Linked DNA regions of Homo sapiens: region 2 is linked to region 1. Evidence: promoter capture Hi-C in 16 types of primary human blood cells and fetal thymus (Javierre and others, 2016). All regions are on one chromosome and are shown on one strand. Each heading gives the region's core, a stretch centred on a gene start or on the middle of the fragment in contact. The rest is flanking DNA. Distances are from core to core; before and after follow the strand shown. Region 1 holds the start of SLC9B1 (solute carrier family 9 member B1). Region 2 overlaps H2AZ1-DT (H2AZ1 divergent transcript).

What was found. The method cuts DNA at HindIII sites, captures the fragments that hold promoters and counts their contacts. A CHiCAGO score of 5 or more calls a contact.
Region 2: a contact is called between a fragment that was not itself captured here and the fragment with the promoter of SLC9B1 in region 1, in 1 of 17 cell types (non-activated CD4 T cells). The highest score is 7.3, in non-activated CD4 T cells.

What each region holds. Positions count from the first base shown.
Region 1 is chr4:103,016,350-103,022,015 of GRCh38, forward strand. SLC9B1 (solute carrier family 9 member B1) reads right to left here and starts at 3,356. Exons shown (of 12, transcript NM_139173.4): 1 at 3,250-3,356. It also overlaps a transcript of SLC9B2 not described here. RefSeq lists an enhancer at 3,197-3,697. The HindIII fragment of the contact is 6,332 bases long and covers 1-3,991 here.
Region 2 is chr4:99,964,381-99,970,046 of GRCh38, forward strand. All of the region lies in intron 1 of H2AZ1-DT (H2AZ1 divergent transcript), which reads left to right. Among named protein-coding and RNA genes, the nearest start is that of H2AZ1-DT, 17 kb to the left of the region's middle. The HindIII fragment of the contact is 2,031 bases long and covers 1,492-3,522 here.

The DNA.
Region 1 (5,666 bases), core at 2,106-4,605:
CCCTTCTTTGACCATACATATTTCTCTATTACCTCCATTTCTTGGCTCTCTTTCATAGTAAAACATCTTGAGATGTCTATAGTACTACGTCAATTTCTGCCCAGCCAGCAGTACTATGTCAATTTCTTGACACCACATTTTCTCTTTATTGTACTAGTCAAGGCATATAACTACTTAATGTTTCCAAAACCCAATGCACAGATCTCTTTATTTTATTTGACTTCTAAGCATGATTCAGTACTGTTGGCCATGTTTTGTAGTCTTGGCTTTTTTTTTTTTTTTTTTTAATTGAGATGGGGTTTCTCCATGTTGGTCAGGCTGGTCTGGAACTCCCGTCCTCAGGTGATCCACCCACCTTAGCCTCCCAAAGTACTGGGATTACAGGCATGAGCCACCATGCCCGGCCAGTCTCGGCTTTTATGTCACTGCACTCTTCAGATTTTCTTCCTACTTCATTGGCTATTCTTCCATCTCTTTTGTTGGCTTCTTTTCCTCTGCTTTACACTAGTCACTGCAATGTTATCGGTGAGCACACTTGCCCTAGGTAGTTTTCCATATGCTGGTGACTCCCAACTTTGCATCTTTGGTTCCTTGCACTCTGCACAGAGCTGAAGCCTCAAATTACCTTTGATTTCTAATAAGAATGTAAAAATTAAGGTAAGCAAAATAAAACTCCCCCCTCCCACCGCCCTGGCTGCTCCTTTTTCTTCCTTAGTCTTTTCCATTTGGTAAATGGCACAATCATCCACACAAGCTCAAGACAAAAATTTAGGGGCTAGAGGTGACTCCTTTTTCATCACCTCTATATTCAAAACATCACAAAATCTGTAGGCTCTGCCCCCAAAATAGAGCTCACATACATCTACTTCTCTGCTATTTTATCCCAAACTTGTCATTCCTCTTTGGATTTCTGCAATTATCTTCTGCTATAGATCTTGCTCCCCACCCAGTATGATTCAGTCATCACATAATAGGCAGAACAAACCTTTTTACAATGTAAATCAGATCCTATCACTCCCTCCAACTCACTACTGGTTTCTCTTTACACTTTAAATAAATTCCAAACTTATTCCATGGGTAGATTTCCATGGCCTATTCAAAGCCTTACATGATTTGGCCCCTACCTATCCCTCCAAGCTCATCCTGTACCACTTTCTCTACATTTTAGCTTCAGTGGTCTTGATGATGTTCCTGGAAGGAGCCAAGTTCTTTCCTTCCTTAGGGCTCTTGCAATTGGAGTTGCCTTTACCTGTAGTGCGCTGATCCCAAATATTTCCATGGTTGGTTTTTAAAAATATCACTAAGCAATCAATCTAAACTAACCCCTCCCCCAGTCTTAAGGAAGACCTTTACAGTTTTACTTCTTCACTGTGCTTACTATTATCCAAAATTCCTTGCTCATATAGTTTACCTATTTTCTATCTTACACTCACTAGAATTTAAACTTCATAAGAACAGCGATCTTGCTAGTCTTTCTTACCATTGTATTCACAATGCCTAAAACAACGCCTGACAAAGTAGGATATTCTTTAAAAAATACTTAATGAATGCCTTTCCCTAAGCAAGTCACTTGACTTCTCTACTTAACTCACACTGGTGAGTTTACTACTGCTAGACTAAGCTCTGGATCCAGGAAAAACAAAAGTGGCTAAGGTATGGCTTCTTCAGAAGCTCATCCATTCATTCCCTCAAAAAATATTTATTGAACATATATTACACTATGTTCCAGGTACTATTCAATCTCAGTGTTTAGTAAACACCACAGTAACATGGGATTTGGTTAACCAACAGAAGTGTTTAAACAGGATGAGTACAAAAATAAGTACAAAATGAGAAGTACTATAAAAACGATACTTTATATGTTACAACTATAGCACCCACCTATTTCCTTGTGTCTAGTAATTGGCAGGACCTTATGACAAGAGCCAACTGAAAAACAGCAGTATAAATTCTGGTACTCTAAAAGCCCAGACTTCACCACTGTGCAATATATCCACACAACAAAACTGAACTTGTACTAACTAAATCTGTATAGAATTTTAAAAAGTAAGTTAAAAAAAATTCTGGTACTCACAGGGGACAATACCTATGAATGCCCTTTTCATAGGCACACAGTGACTAAAATATTTGGGGCATGAATTCTCTAGGGGTGACAATAATAAGTGTCATTTTTCATGCTTCTGTTGCACACATAATTATATTTATCTCTAAGGAAAATCAGAGAGTGGGGTGTGGCCTCCCTCAGTGCCACCTGGGCCAGTTGTCTCCCCACATCACCAAATCTGTTATTTCACAGGCTCTAGGACACCCATAGAGGGGGAGTGAGGGACCTGGTATGGTCCCGTGAAGAGCTCTTGTAACACTACTGATTGATGTGACAGACACAGTATGTGTGCAACTTTCCTTTTTCCTTCAAAAGCACTGGTCTAAAGCAGGGATCCCCAACCCCTGGGCAGCAGACAGGTACAGGTTTGTGGCCTATTAGGAACAGGCCACACAGCAGGTGAGCAGGGCTAGAGGATTATGCCTGAGCTCCAGCTCCTGTCAGATGAGCAAAGGCATTAGATTCTCATAGGAGCACAGACCTGATTATGAACTGCGCATGTGAGGGATCTAAATTGCGCCTTCTCAAGAGAATCTAATGCCTGATGATCTGAGATAGAAGAGTGTCATCCCATCTTGCCCCCCACCCCAAACTGTCTTCCATGAAACTGATCCCTGGTGCCAAAAAGGTTGGGGACTGCTGGAAGTGCTTGTCCCCTGGGTTAAAGCCAAGAGGAGTAAACAGGATTAAGGGGCGTGGATGTGGGTGGGTGGGGGAAGAGAGCTTTCTCAGGATCGGCAACCAATCCCAGAATCTCCAGTCGCAGGAGCATGTATGTGAAGGTTTATTTGCAGGGATCCACCGTTTGTAAAATAGTACACGCTTAATAAAATTAATTTTGAGGTCAATCTTAACTGACAGATCTCTTCTTTCTTACTGGCGAGTATTTGTAAAATAAGAAAAACAGGAGGAAAAGAGAACAAACAAGAGAGATGTGGGATGACGGAGTAAGGAAAGGAGTCACGGAGAGGAGAGACAATGTCTGTGGCTGTTCCCTCAGCGTCTGGGAGAAGAGCCCAAGAATCCCATTGAACTGAGGGGGAGGAAAGGCCCTCCTGCGGCCTACCGCAAGGAAACGATCGCGGCAGACCCGGGACTAGCGCCAAAGGGCTTGGAAGGGCGGCGTTAAGAAAAATGGGCCGTACCTACAACTTCTTTCGCAGCCCTCGCTGGCCCGGGAGCGGCCCAGGAGCCCAGTGACCGTTGCGTAAGCCACGCGCCACCCAGGTGGGCAGGGTGGTGACGCGAAAGCCCGGATAGACTTCCGCGCAGGGGCGGGGCGGGGCGAGGAGGCGGCAGCGCGTTTAAGTGACGTCTTGGCTGTCCGCGCCGGCAGAGGCGAGGGTTCTGGGGTTTCTGGGACTGTCTGGTGTGTTTTCTGTCTATTGAACCCTTTCCTTTCGACGTCTCTTCTGAATATTGACTCATCGGGTTGTAGAAATCCAGGGACAGAGTTGACATCACTGGGCATTTTAGCCAAAAAGCAGTGCTCGGGACTGCATGTGCCAGAAGTAAACTTGTCAAAACTCAGATTGTGTTTCCCCTAAAGTCAGCTTAAAGTGCAATGGTAGAAGAGCACGGTCTCTCCCCAAGACGGCCTGAGCTTAAACTGCAGCGCTGTCACTTGCTAGCTATGGGACCTAGGCAAATACATCGTCTCCCTGAGGTTGTCTTCTCATCTGTAAAGGACGCTGTGGTGGTGGTGTGAGAATAAATGAGACATGGCAAGTGTCTGGAACAAAGACGCTGTGTACAAAGTAAACACTTAATATACTGTTATCAGTATAAAACCTTTGTGAGTTTTTTTTTTTTTTCCGCATGAAATCTTATGTGGAAAGTTGTATGTGAAAGAAATGAAAGCGGAGCTGCGTTGATGGTGGGCCCAGAAGCTTTGGCCTTTCAGTCCCAAAGTTTCCAGTAATAGAATCCGCGCTTCCTATAAAAGACAAAAACAACTGTTATTGGAGAAAGTGTAAACTTCTTAGAAAGACAAACTGCCCTTTCCTATCTAATGTTTCTCCTGACACTCAATGTTTACTCTTGAACACTGTATTCCTTTTTGCCTCAGTGCGTTCTGTAAAGTTAATTCCTCTACCGGAGTGTTCTTTTTCTTAGTCATCATCTAAGATCTGATCCAAATTACCGTTCCTTCTTGGGTAACTTAAATACGAAATTATCTTTTTATTGGTTTTGTTGACGTTGTTGAGACAGGGTCTCACTCTATTACCCCGGCTGGAGTGCAGTGCGATCTAGGCTCCCTGCAGCCTCCTCCTCCTTGGTTCAAGCGATCCTCCTGCCTCCTGAGTAGCTGGGACTACAGGTGGGCACCACTACCCCCGGCTAATTTTTGTATTTTTAGTAGAGAGGAGTTTCACATATTGCCCAGGAGGACTTGAACTCCTGGACTTAAGTGATCTGCCCGTCTTGGCTTCCCACAGTACTGGGATTACAAGCGTGAGCCACCACAGCCCTGCCCTTTTTATTGTTTTTAACACCTTCCCTCCTTCAACGTGTTATAGACATCTCAGCAAGGATTTATTTTTCTTCCTCGTTTCAGGAGAGTAGACAGGGTTTCATGATTATAGGGTTAAGGAAATGTTTTGTACTCATGAAAAGGAAATGTTTTGTACTCACAGGAAAAGCAGGTAGATCCCTAAAGATAATGGGAGTTGGGACAAATGGTAAACCTGGGAAGGAAGACCTTTGCTAGGAGTCTGTTTGCCTCCAAGGCACTACTCTTATGCTCTAGAAGGAATGGGCTCCTGGAGAGGTAAGTGCTTTAGGGTCCATGTAAGGAAGATGGAGCGCACATCAACAAATGGAGTTTTGGAATTCTCACCAGGCCAGAGGGCTCAGGCTGGATTTGAGTCAGTCAACTATAAATATAATATTACGTACTCCCCAAATGCCATGAAGCAATTCCCACTTGTTACAGAGAGGTACATAAATGATTCATATAAAAATATAATGTTCTGAGACATTAAAAAAATACAGTGGTTCTTTGGGAGACAATATAATGAAAATTTACTAATAAAAAACATTTAAACAATCATCTGATAACCTTTCTTATAAAAATTAAGTTTTAAAAATAAGTAAATTGATTATATTTGCAACAAAGTCATGGAAAGCAAAAGCTTTTGAGGAATAAGGAGAATCTTAACTGAGAGCAATTTTTTAAAACTATACATGACATGATAAAAAAAGTTTTAACACTTTCTACATAGTTTCATACTTCTGAAAGTACTTCAATAAAAATATTTAGCCAATGATCTATTTAGTATGATTTCAGTGCCAACTTTCTTTTCTAGTCTTATCTCTAATTCTCTTCATCAATCTCAAGTGCCAATCACTTTCTATGCTCCAGGCTTTACTGTTTTCAAAACTTTGCTAATATGCCAGCCTCCCACACTAGTTGTTCCCATCTTCACCTTACTCCCTAATATTACCCCATCCATCCAGATCCTCTCCATTCTTGAAGGTCTAGTTCAAGTATCAGTTCCTCTAAGATTTCCTCAACTTCTACACTAAAAACACTTTTGAATTATTCACTTGGATTATAGCT
Region 2 (5,666 bases), core at 1,257-3,756, 3.1 Mb before region 1:
AGAAAAAAAAATTTGCTGGATGCTGTTGGAAGTGTCCACAGCACCAACTCATTACTCATATCTCAAGACTGATAATTAAAGGTGAAGAAGTAGGCCAGGCAAAGTGGCTCCCGCCTTAGGGAGGCTGTAGAGGAGGATTGCTTGAGGCCAAGAGTTAGAGATCAGCCTGGGCAACACAGTGAGATCTCTTCTCTAAAAAAGAAAAATTAGCTGGGCACAGTGGCACTTGCCCATGGTCCCAGCTGTTCTGGAGGCTGAGGTGGCAGGAGGATTGCTTGAGCCAAAGAGGTTGAGGCTGCAGTGAGCCATGTGACAGAGTGAGATCTTGTCTCAAATAAATAGATACAAATAAAGGTGAAAAAATAAGCATTTATCCTGTCTGTATGCTATGAATTATGTTTCAGTTTATACTGAACTAACTGATGAGAAAAATTTCTCTGAACAAAAGAATCTCAGCTAATAAATGCAGAAGAACTAATAGAATTTTTTTTAAATCTCAATTTTTAAACCTTCACATGAATCATTTAAAGGTCATTAATCTGCTGTAAAATCATTAGATGAAAGTTTAGGAAATTTACAATGAAGGAATATGGCTGTTACCCCCCACCATCAATCTTAGTATTGTAAAACTAAAACAACCAGATGAACCAAATGCCTTTTGATGTAATCAACATGAAAATGAACTACACAACCCCACCTATGAAGTATTCTTAAAAAAAAAAACTGAACCCATATCTGTTCAAGTCTTCAGGACTAATTTCTTGGCACTGAAAATAAAAAGCCACCAAGCAGACAATGCAAAGAAGCATTAGCCATATCCACAATGTGTAAAATTGACCTGTTTTTTTTCAATAAGGCAATAGAATTCAGGGAAGGAGAAAAAAGAGGAGAAAACTGTTCTAAATTAAGAGATATTTAAAAAGAATTGTGAGATAGAACAACCCAGTAAAATGTGTGAACCTTGGTTGGAAGCTGATGTCATTAAACCTCTAATTAGTGGTAGTGGTTGTTTTTTTAAGGTTTTACATAATTGGGGAAATTTGAATACAGATTTAGAACTAGGTAATATGAAGGAATTATTGTTAATGCTGTTAGAGAAAACAATGGCATTTGTTTATGTAAGAAAATGTCCTTTGTTTTATTATTTTTAAAGAAAGCACATTAAAATATTTAAGGTTAATATAAAATGATTTCTGAAATTTGCTTTAAAATGCTCCAAAAATTTTTTTAATGCAGGAGGCATAAACAATATGGCAAAATATTTATAATTATTGAAATTAAGTACTTATTTGAAATTTTCAGTAGAGTTCAAAAAGAAAAAATTGGTAATGAAATTGCTGCAGATGCTGTCTCTGTGTAGGAAGAAAAAAATGGTAAACTTTGCTTTGTGGTCATCAGTTTGCCGTTGTTTGGGACCTTTTCATATCATAGTTTTTACCCTTAAATTAAAAAAAAAAAAAACCAACCCCAATATCCTGTTTAAACAAACCAAGCTTCGCTTCTTAGCCACTCTGGTTTCACCACATAAACGATACTTTATTGTTTGAAGTTGTGCTGAGCTGTCTTTAACAGCTAAGTTTATCTACATATATAAATATTCTGACTGTAAATTTTGTTTTGTTGGGCTATACTAAAATAACATGCAGAGAACTTGAACATGAAACACAAACGGTAAGAGGCAAAGATGCAGCAGTGGAAAAAAAGAGGAAAATTGAATTCAGAACAAACTGGATTTGACATTTATGCTTCCCAGCTAAGAGACGTTGGTCTAATCAACCTATGTGAGCATTCCACTTCTCTTGGGCAGAATGGGACTATTGTGAAGACTGCATGAGCTAAGTCATGTGCTTTTTTAACTGTAATGCATCATACCAAGATAAAATATTATTAGCATGAAGAATGAATGCTGGCAATATTTCATGACTATTTTCATTTTACAAAAGTGAAAAATTATTTACACTGATTTTTAAAAAGAATTAAAAATAATTTACAAAATTTATCCTAATAAACAGCAATAAGAAACACATTTGGTCTGCCTTTACATATTTCCATCGGTAGGAGAATCAGATCTGCTCAACAAGGATAGAGTTCCACTTTGGTTTTTGACTTTGTTCCTGCTAAGGATCATTTTACTACAGTGATATTAGGTCTTACTTAGAAAAACTATTATTCTGTCTCTTCAGGTGTAGTTAACTACACTGAAAATTTCCATTAAAAAGATACCAGAGTAAAGAAATAATTTTATAATGCAGAAAATCACCCCAGTTTTACTGTTTTATACCCTATCTTTAATATATCAAGTTTGTTTGTTTTAATTTCAGCACCTAATACAATTTCGCCTCTTCAAAAACTTACAGATAAATTGAGAACTATACTCAGAAGCCACAGGCAACATTAACTGTGACTTAGATGGTTCTGAGTAATTTATAATTCAATTTGCAGCCAATATTCAGTGTTGTTATGCACTTGAACTCAGCTTTTCTGGAAATTGTTTAAGGCACGTAAACATCCTGCGTTAATGAAAAGTTGTTCTTACAACATAATTGTGAGTCATGAAGAGAGAACTGAAGAAAACATAACCTTTTTTCCTTATCCTTTCTTTAGAAAAAGAGGCCAAATGAAAGAATATGAATATCTCTTTAAAGTAATTAATGGCTTAAGGGCTACAAAGTACTTTGAAAACAAAAGCAAAAATTTCTCCTAATAAACAGCAACAAGAAACACATTTGGTCTGGCTGTAGTATTTCTGTCAGTGGGAGAATTAGACACACAAGGATAGAGTTCCACATTGTTTTTCATTGTTGTTGTTGTTTGTTTGTTTGTTTTGAGACAGAGTTTCGATCTTCTTGTCCAGGCTGGAGTGCAGTGGCGCGATCTCGGCTCACTGCAACCTCTACCTCTCAGGTTCAAGCTATTCTCCTGCCTCAGCCTCCCAAGGAGCTGGGAATACAGGCATGCACCATCATGCTCGGCTAATATTGTATTTTTAGTAGAGATGGGGCTCTTACCATGTTGGTCAGGCTGGTCTCGAACTCCTGACCTCAAGTAATCCACCTGCCTCAGCATCCCAAAGTGTCGGGATTACAGGTGTTAGCCACTGTGCCTGGCCCACATTGGTTTTTTACTTTGTGCCTGCTAAGGATCATTTCACTACGGTGATGTTAGGTCTTATTTAGATAAAATGTTATTCTGTCTTTTCAGGTGAATGGTAGAGAAAATAGATTATATTCCTGTGGGCACTGCTAGTACTTTCAATACTTTTATAATGGGCTCATCTGTATCTCTTTACTCTCATTTTTTCATTTTTTAATGGTCTCAATCTAGATGATTCTTTTCCCATTTAAAAAGCCATTATTTATTAATTGATTGATTCTTGAAAAGGCTAAACTTGTCAATGTTTCAACATTTAAAAGGCTAAAAAAAGTGGTATAGAGTGAAAATTCTCTCTCCCACTCCTATCCTTCAGTTGCTCAGCAATGTGTTTTCTCCATAGTTTCCCTGATCACCTGCTTTTGTTTACAAAGCTTTTGTTGCTTCCTCTATCTGAAATGTGCTTCAGATAGCTGTCAATTTTTGCACTTTACTTCTTCAAAATATGGCTCAATACTCTCCTTTAGTGAACATTCCCTGAGCCACCATCTCCAAAATTGATCTCTTATTCCCCTTGATTCTGCATCATTGAATATGGTTTGTACCCTGCTTTCTTTAATATACTTTAAATTGCTAATGCTCCTAAATTACTTTCATATTTTCTGGAATGATTTTAGATTTTTGAATAGCCTACAGATTTACAGTGCCTTGAAAGCAAGAAATGACTTTTATTTTATTTTTCCTACGTAGCAGTCTGGATCTATGCAACTAGTTGGTGCCTAGTATCTTCTGTATCCTCAAAAATTATTAACTGGCATTTCTCAAAATTTGGTGCATATCAGAATCCTGGGGCCGAGAATGGAGGGGAGGTGGAAAGTGGGGAGCTTTTGAAACTCGTGAATGGTAGGATTCACCCCATACCAATTAAATCAGAGTCTCTTGGGAGTGAGATTTGAGCATAAACAGTATTTAAAACCTGCTGGATGACTTCAATGCACAGCTATGTTTTAAGAATCAGTGATCTAACCCACTCCCTGCCCTCAATTTCAGTGATGACCTCATTCCATGAGAATCTGCTCTTCCTACCAGTGTTATACAATTCTCCCTGCATCTGCACCCATCTTCTGCTTTTCCCCCACTACAGCTAAGAAAGAGTTCCTCTGCTTCCCATAGGCCTCCTTCCAGCTGCCACATTGTCTTTGCTCCCTTTCACAGAAACCTTTTCATGGGATTTTTCTTTGCAGGTGGTTGTCACTTTTTCACCTCCAAATCTCTCTTCAACCACTTATATTTGACTTTCATTCCCATCAGGCCTCCCAAATGGTTCTTGTCACTGTTAATTGCCATGTTGCCAAACCCAAGGGTCAGTTTTCTTCCTTCTTTTTACCTCTCAGCAGCATGACCACACTTTCCACCAGATACTGCCATTTCTTGACTTCCAGGATACCATATGGTTGCTTCTCTTCTCCTTTTATTGCTTTCTTTCATTTATTTTCTCTTCACTACCTGACTTCAAGATGGCACTTTCCCAGGGCTTGGTCCTAAGCCCTCCTCTTTCTCCACATATTTCCATGTACAACTTTTAAGTAGAGATGATTTCAGATAGTAGATGACTGAAAATTTTTTACCTTTATAGTTAAGTACAGTTGTCTCTGGTTATCTCTGGAGATTGGTTCTACGAACCCCGGTGGATACCAAAATCATCAGATGCTCAAGTCGCTGATATTAAATGTTGTGGTATTTGCATATAACCTATGCACATACTCCTGTGTACTTTAATCTCTAGATTACTTATAATACCTAATACAATATAAATAGTTGATACACTGTATTGTTTAGGAAATAATGACAGGAAAGACATTCAGTACAAACACAATTTGTTTTCCAAATATTTTTGATCCACTGTTGGTTGAATCCATGGATGTGGAATCCACGGATACAGAGGGTCCACTATTTATTTCACCTTGACAGGTAAGCATTAGAAAAGACTACAACCTGAAAATCAAACTCACATTAAGGTTAGAAAGTGAAGAAGAGTGAGTTCAAATAGCAAATCATATGGCAAATTTCAGAAAATCTGCTTTTTACACATCTCTTTTCTTTTCCTAAATTTCTTCTCAAGTTCACAGCTATCTTCACTCTTTCCAAAAGCCTCTATCTATGGTCAACCATTATATCTTCCCCTGGCCCCTTTATAATTTTTCCCCCAATCATACTCTCCAGCCTCTTGGTTCCATTCTCCCCCCTCTTCATTCATCTCTGGCAGAAGCACATCTTGCTGATGAGCTTCCAGATGCCCTGTATTGAAACTGCATATATTACTGAGAAGTTAGGTTTCACTTAACTGGGAAAGCTTCAAAATAGGGAACAAATACCTTGCAAGGAAGCCGTTGAAAATTTGCTGGATATAGAAGAGATACTCTGGGAAAGAAAGAGGTGTGGTAATAAAACAATATACAAATATTTTAAATAATAAAGTCTGTCTTAGACTTGTTGTCTAAGAATCTAGGATAATTCACATTTAAGAATATTGGTATTCTTTGGGAGCCCAGGAGCCCCAAAAGCACCTGGGTCAA